2 separate regions of the Homo sapiens genome follow, and region 1 is linked to region 2. The links are contacts of gene promoters, found by promoter capture Hi-C in blood cells and fetal thymus (Javierre and others, 2016). All regions are on one chromosome and are shown on one strand. The core of a region is centred on a gene start or on the middle of the fragment in contact, and the rest is flanking DNA. Distances in the headings are between cores, read along the strand shown.

The links. Contacts are between HindIII fragments. The CHiCAGO score rates a contact against its expected background, and 5 or more counts as called.
Region 1: a fragment that was not itself captured here is called in contact with the fragment with the promoter of CNKSR3 in region 2 in 1 of 17 cell types (erythroblasts); the score reaches 6.4 in erythroblasts.

Annotation. Positions count from the first base shown.
Region 1 is chr6:155,308,821-155,312,759 of GRCh38, forward strand. TFB1M (transcription factor B1, mitochondrial) reads right to left here. Exons shown (of 7, transcript NM_016020.4): 2 at 2,368-2,519. Among named protein-coding and RNA genes, the nearest start is that of TFB1M, 3.7 kb to the right of the region's middle. The HindIII fragment of the contact is 1,219 bases long and covers 1,900-3,118 here.
Region 2 is chr6:154,508,648-154,512,414 of GRCh38, forward strand. It overlaps CNKSR3 (CNKSR family member 3), which reads right to left and starts at 2,038. Exons shown (of 13, transcript NM_173515.4): 1 at 1,416-2,038. The coding sequence starts at 1,467. LOC101928868 (a long non-coding RNA gene) reads left to right here and starts at 2,144. Exons shown (of 2, transcript XR_001744422.2): 1 at 2,144-2,315. The HindIII fragment of the contact is 4,325 bases long and covers 631-3,767 here.

The DNA of each region.
Region 1 (3,939 bases), core at 1,259-3,758, 800 kb after region 2:
CACTAAAATGGTATCCTTAAAATAGATCACCTTCTTTCTGCTTTTACTCAGTTTTATGATTAATTTAGTACCTCTAAAACAAAGTAGTTTTACATATTGAAACATTCCTCACTGGGGAAAAAAAGGCCTATTTGATATTTTAGTACCCAACATTTCTTTTTAAGGCAAATTCCTTTCCTGCATATAAGATACTAAGAATTAATTTTGTTTCTACTAAAAACAAATGAGAAGTCAAATATACATTTCCTCTAGAGTAATTTAACTTGAAATCAGCCTTCACATTTAGAAAAAAGAGCATAAAACTTTTTCATTATCAATGCTACACAAATATTTACTTTCACTATTTAATGATACATTTAATTAATATGAGAGATACATATACATTTGTGTATATATATACACAGATGCAGAAATAGTGGTCAACTTTTTTGTTTCTCATGTGAGACATTTACTGAACACCTGCTATGTGCTAGGCACTGTTACGTGAGATAGAGGTACAGCAGGGAACAAAACAGACACACATTTCTACCCTCATGGTACTTACATTCCAGACAGGTGAGTCAATTAACAAACAAATGGGAAGAACATATATACAGTATGTCAGATGATGATAAATCGAATGAGATAAAACAAGGCTGGAATTAGGAACGCAGTGACTTATGGGTTTGGGGGAAACTGAGAAGAGAAGGGTGGCAGTCGCTCTTTTCAACAATCTGCCTTCAAAGATCTTTTGTTCATATCAAAGAGGGGAATATGTGGGAATGAATGGAAATCTGGTTCACCCCCTGGCCTAATAAGAAAGAATAAACCCAACGAATGGTGAGATATGAGGGACAAGAAGTCTTTTTAAGAGCAAAAAAGTCAGGTGAGTATTCCCTATGTCCAAAAAGGGCTACACGAATAAGCCCGAAGGGGATTATACAGTTATTTAGTTTCTTTTTATAATCTCATGATCTCACCAAAAATAATAATATTCCCACGTCCACCTCCAACTTATATATAATTCTTAAAATAAGAACACAGTTCAAAACAAAAATCACTATTAAATTCCACATTTGATCAAGGAATATGTGCCATGTGACTATCTCAACATAAAGTTTAGTATCTGAAACCAATTCTGTTAGTATAGACTGGTAAAACTAGATAAAAGGAAATATTATGTAATTTTTTAAAGCATAAAAACTAGATAAAGCAAGATTAGGGAAAAACTGCTAGGTTTCTTAAAAAAATCAGATACATGCACACAAAGTTCTAGGTTTTCAAAAACAACTTCTCAAACCGTTCTGACAGAAATTAACATTTTTCCATTAATATATATACAAGTTAGTATGAGAATATACTCGTTTAAAATCAATTTGTCCTTTTGTATGGAAGTAATAACGTAGATAACTACATTATTCTATTATAGTCACATGATAAATTGCTTCTCATCTGAGCCAAAGGTTCAGGACTCTTTTAAAATTTTAGAATTATGGAGGAATCAAAGGCCTTTAAGACATTAAGTGTTCCCCTATGAGGAAATCCCTTTACAAGATCCCTGATACAATCTATTTCACTGTTTGCCAGCGTTTTAAAAAAAGTAAGTTCCTCCTTATTTCAAATCCTCAATCCTGCCTCCCTCAATTTCCATCTATTTGTTTTAGCTCTTTCTTAGAAAAGATCAAAACAAGCTTATCCTATGTACCCCCAACCTTGGATGTGCTGCTATATACACTCTTACCCAGGGCCTCTTTTCTCCAGTTGAAACATGCCCAGTTCCTTCAACTCTCATTTCTTATACAATAACAGTGCCTGTATTTTAAAGATGCATGTATCATTTCATTTAAACCTCATCCTAAATCTATAAAAGTACAACTTCCTTCCTTCACTTAAAAAATTTACCTTATAAAAGAATGCTTAAGCTTCATAATTAGTCTCTCATGATGACAAACGTGCATATGTCTTACTCATCTTTTGTTTGTGGAAATGCTTTTTGAACCTAAATGAAGTTCTCAAAAGTCATACCAATGAGTCATTACTGGCCATTATTTATTTTTATTTATTTTTGAAGGAATGGGCCACGACATGCATAGCTATTAGCAGACTTAAAAAAAAAAATCACACAAAACAATTAATTTGTTTAGCATAAATGCTTAAAGCAGGTTTTTTTCAAGGTGTAGTCAATAGACCCTCTGAGAGTGCTTGTTAAAAATGGAGATTTCCAGATTTCTCCAGACTATGGAATCAAAATCTCTGGAATGGGGCCTTGGGGATCTATAGTTGAGGAAAAACCTACATAATCTTTGGATACCTTGGGGTTTAAGCATCATGGCATAAAGATTTAAATTCAGCTTTTGCCTCCTAAAGCAGACACTTTAAGCATCTCACCTGTAATCCAGGAATAAATCGAGTGTCCTTTTCAACCACCAGAAGTTCAGCGACGTCGGCATTAAGAATAGATCTTGTGATTCCCCCTGGCCCAGGGCCCACTTCGTAAACATAAGCATTTGTCAGATTGCCAGCTTTCCTTACAATCTTATCTAGAGGAAAAAGAGTTTTAGTTATCTCAATTAACTTGGCAAATTTCAACGTATGAAATTTAGAGAGAAAAATCTTCTATAAAAATTCAGCCATTACCCAATCAATTGATCCTTTATGTATAATATTTATTTGACTATTTAACTCTCTACCTAAATTAACATGAAGTGGCAATCGAATATGCTACCACATCACCATTGAACTGTACCAGTCCCTTAACACACACAGGATTATCATGACAAAGTTTCTTAGCTTAAATTTAGCTAATATTGTAGTTTCCATCTGTCCCATGCAAATTCCTTTCAAACTGATTTGAAACCAACCGACTCCTAAGAACAGACTGGATAAGAATGCAGCACTTTTCTATAGTTATTGAACATTGAATATCTGAATAAGCAATACTAGTTTCACATTCAGAATCTTCAGTATTGCTAGTGAAATCCAAAAGCAAAAAGTGCTGAAGTCTTATTTTTATCTAGAGACATCTTGGTGGTGGTCACTATGGCAATGGCAATAAGTTCTTAGATCGTAAGATTTTCAGAAATTTGAATTCTTAGTCATTTTCAGGAAAAAGTTAAATTGAGCAGTTGAGGGTTTTTAAAGCTTTGCACACATGCATGTTAATACAGAAAAATTAATTTTTTAATTAATCAAATTCAAGTTAGCAGCCCTTAAGACATCATAAAAAGGTAGAGTACTGACTCTGTGCAACCAGTCATCACATCTGGAAAAACATGCAATGGGCTGGTCTTAGTGATTCTGAGATATGGAAATCCAAGGAACTGGTCTTCCTAGGATAGTGGAAATTTAGTCACTAAAAACATACCAGCACTTCTTGTAGGTGTTCACAGTCCTATTTTTGCTTGTTTTCAACAACATAACTTTGTCAGCTAAAATGCGGAAACTAGTTTCTCAGCCATCCAAAAATGGTTTAGTCTTTTAACAGGGAGGGAATTAGCATCCACTGACCATCTTATCTATTATGATGGATTTACACACATTCTCACCTAATCCTTACATGTTAACCAAGGACTCCTATCCCAATTTCATTTCTCTTAACTTTTCAGTTTCCTTGTCTATTGTTTTATTTGTACAAGGTCATGGACTTCAACATAGGTATAAATCCTAAAGCCAATGCCTCTCAGAGGGAACAGGAATGATACATTATGGAATAAATTTAATACTCTCCTTCTTTAAAATGGAGAGCTACAACAGTAGGCAGGTCTCTGCTCTCAAACTTTTCAGGCACATTGAAATACAAATGAATATTAAAGAAGCGCTATCAAATCAATGAGCTTGGATTTCAATCTTGCTCTCTTCTGCCTGAGCTTCTAACCTCAGCTAAGTACCCTCATCTCCGTTAACTCTGGTTCCCATAGAAAGAGTGGATAATATCTAGAATTTGAAACTTACTCCTGAAGA
Region 2 (3,767 bases), core at 788-3,287:
ACTGGCAATGCCACTTACTCTTTACCAAGGGAAACCTAGTCACCAAGGCAGAAACATGTGTTGTTTTTAGCTTCATTTTATATAGGAGTCCAGGAAATTCTGCTCACTTGACAAACCCGTTCTCAAGGAGTTCTCCCAGAGGAGCAGGAAATGGTCAGACATACCCACTGACACACCCCACACACCTCGGACATCCTATTCCACGTGGTCTATGTGTAAGTCACAGGCGTGAGAAATGAGATGTAGCGGTGATCAGTTTTCATTATGCTGCAGCCATGGGTGGGACGGTTTGAAAGACGACCTGGTCTTACCAGTATTACCTACCTCACAGGCTTACTGTGATGACCAAGGACAATAACAGAGAGAGCTCTTAGCAAACTGTAAAGCGCTACACAATTCTAGTTATTACTGAGAAAGAACACCATTCCTCACCTGGAAGAGCAGATAGAAAAACAAATAGTAACTTGAAACAGAGATGTCGTTGGGGGTGGGGGGAAACCATGAAAATACAGATTGTTCTTGGTGGACTTTGTTCTCTTGAAAGTACAGAAAAGGGTTGAGTAAACTCTAGTACCTTTCCCTCGAAATCGTAGGAGACATTGAAAAGTAAGCGAGCCAGCTAGGAGGACAAGCTTCTACCTCTGCTCATTCCCCCCACCACCCCCCCACCGCCCCAGCCCCACTGCCTTCCTCATCCCAAATATTGTATGAATCAAGACAGTGGTTCCAAACAATTATATTTCTCCTTCCCAGTGCTTACATGTGGCCTGAAAATGCAGCGCCACCGGGGATACTGGCGCCTCCCGGAGCAAAAGTCACTGCCTCCCGGGGAGTCCTGGCTCGAGGTTTCTCCCTGGCGCAAATGCTATGGTGTTGGCTTTTGCGCGGCCCTCTCGCCTTCTCCAACAAAAACAGACAGGCTCGGCGGACCCGCCGGAGTCTCCCTCTACCTGTCCGACAGCCCTGTCACGCCTGCGGACGGCTCTGGGCAGGCGGCATGGACGAGGTCCCGCGGGAGTCACCCACACAAAGGCACCTTGTGCCTCTGCACTCGGGCCCCCGGGTCGCCGGGCACCGCACCGGGGCCAGGCAGGGAGAGCGCCCCCCGGCCCGAGTGCCGAGTCCCGAGATCGGCATCCCCAGCCCTCAACCGCCACAGAAAGGCCACCCCTACTCCCTGGTTTAAAGATAGGGCTCCCCTCGGCTTGCCACAATCCGCACCCTGGAAAGGAAGAGCTCGGAGCAGGTACGAGAGATAGGAGCGCACAGGCCACTCGGCAGAAGTTTGCATTGTCACCGGGCTGTGCCCTCACCGCTTCTCGCCGGGAGGAAGGGCCAAGTACCCTCTTCCCCAGCTCCTCGTCCGCCCCATCCCCGAGGCTGGAGGACTCCGGACCCCCCCAAGGCCCGCGCACCTCTAGTCCAGTCCACCACTTGTTTGGGGCTCCACTTGGTCACGGGTTCCATGGTAAACCGCTTCGCCTCTCGCTGGGCTGGAGAGTCGCAGATAAAGTGCTGCTGCCTGCGCTCCGGTGCCCCTTCCCGGGAGGGCGCGCCCGCGGCTGCTCCCCTGCGCCCGAGCGACTCCGTCAAGACTGCATGGCCGCGGTCAGCCAGTCGTCCCAGCGCGGCTCCGCCAGGGGAGCCCGGCCCTCTCCCTCCAGCTGCCACAGTCCAGCTGCAGCTCCTCCTTCCCCCGCCGCCGCCGGGATCCCGGGCACAGCTGCTGCTCCCGAGCGACGGCAGCTGCAGGCACGCCGGGCTGCGACCCCAGACCCCTGGCCTCGGCTCGGCACGGGAGCCTCCCGGCCCGCGACCACTTCCTCGGATCTCTCGAGGCGCGATCGGCTCTCCCTCGGCCGGTCTTCTCGCCTGCTGGCTCTCCGGGGTCCCCGCTCCGCGTGCGCTGGCGTCCCGGAGCCTTCCCGGCGCAGGTCCCACCTCCTGCGCCGCCCTCCCGTGCCGCCCTGGCAGGGCCGAGCGCAGAGCGTGCGCGCTCGGGTTGCAAAGTTTCAGCTCCGGTTGCTGCAAACCGAATAAAAGAGAGGGCGGGGCCGAGGGTCTAGGGAAACTCGTGGGAGGGGGCGGGTCCGCCCGAAGCGGCGGACTCGGGTTACTTTCCCTCTCTAAGCCGGTCCGGCTCACACCCGCAGCGTCCCGGGCCCCGCTTTCCTTTTCAAGGGGCGGGTTGTAGATCGCGCGCGCACCCTGGAGAGCCCGCTGGTTTGTGTGAGGCCCTGGCCCTGTGGGTAGCAGAACACTCTGTCTCGCTGTGAGCAACAATACACTAAAAAAAAAAGAAAAGAAAAAAAAAAGTAAGATCTGCATGTTCTGTTCATTTTAAATGCTTTATATCGTAATACTACTCTGCCATTAAGCCGTCATTTTAGGTTTCTTAAAGTAGAACAATTTTTTTTTTTAGATGGAGCCTCGCTCTGTCGCCCAGGCTGGAGTGCAGTGGCGCGATCTCAGCTCACTGCAGCCTCTGCCTCCCAGGTTCCAGCGATTCTCCCGCCTCAGCCTCCGGAGTAGCTGGGATTACAGGCGTCTGCCACTACGCCCGGCTAATTTTTGTATTTTTAGTAGAGACAGGGTTTCACCATGTTGGCCAGACTGGTCTCGAAATCCTGAACTCAGGTGATCCGCCAGCCTCGGCCTCCCGAAGTGCTAGGATTACAGGCCTGAGCCACCGCGCCAGGCCAGAACAATTTTATTTCATTTATATGTTGACTGAAATCGTAACAATGTAACTCTTTTAATGCTATTGCTATGAAATTTCAACTTTGCGACTAAAATTAGATTGATGGCTTTTAGCGTTATATTTTGCTATATTATAATTTCATATTTACAGAGTGAGCTAATGCTCCTTGGGATTAGTCATTAACCGTGAGAGGAAAGCTGTTAGCCAAGAAAAAAAAAATAGCTCGTGCACAATTTCAGCGCCTGGCAGGGGAGGGCCCTTCCACATTCATGGACTGCAACTGGGGCCAGAGTTAATGCTAAACTGGGGGAAAATCTAATTTGAATGCCTGCCTCTCCTTCAAGTTCTCCCTGCATCCTAACCGCCCCCCCAACCCCTGCCACCCTCGCCACCACCCCTCCCCTCACCCCCCAACACCCCCCCCAACCCCCCACCCCCGCCCCGCCCCGCCCAGCAACCTCTTCCTCCCACTCTTTTTGGCACTGAATGATTCTTACTTTCAATTACGGTTATTTATTTACATCTTCCTCTTGGAGACTATTAACCCCTTGAGGGCAGAACCTACTTGATCTCATATAGAGTTTTCTCTCCTCCCTTTCTTCCTACCACCTAACTTGTAGCACCCAGCACGGGACCAAAGGCAAGGTTGGTATTTATTCATTCAGTAAATATCCGGGAATGCTTCCTATGTGCCAGCCACTGTATTCATTCAGTATTTGTTGAATTCGTGTGATATGTGCTACTTACACAGGTCTGTTTGGACGCACATGTGGAAAAATAGCTAGCAGCCAGCCTAGCATCTGATGAGCTGGAGCATCCAAGCAAAAGAAACATTTTTAAAAAGCAAAACATCAGACCCACCTCCCATTCAACTCCCCTAGAGGACTGGGCAACACAGAGACACACAACTATCAAATATAGTGATTCTTTTTCTTCATCTAGCGAAAGTGACTGGCAGACCACACAAGTTGGCAAAGGCAATGACAAAATTCCTGATATAGTAGTTGTCCTTAAAAAAAAAAAAAGACCTTTAAACTTAATGACATCCAGCATTAACCATCTTTAC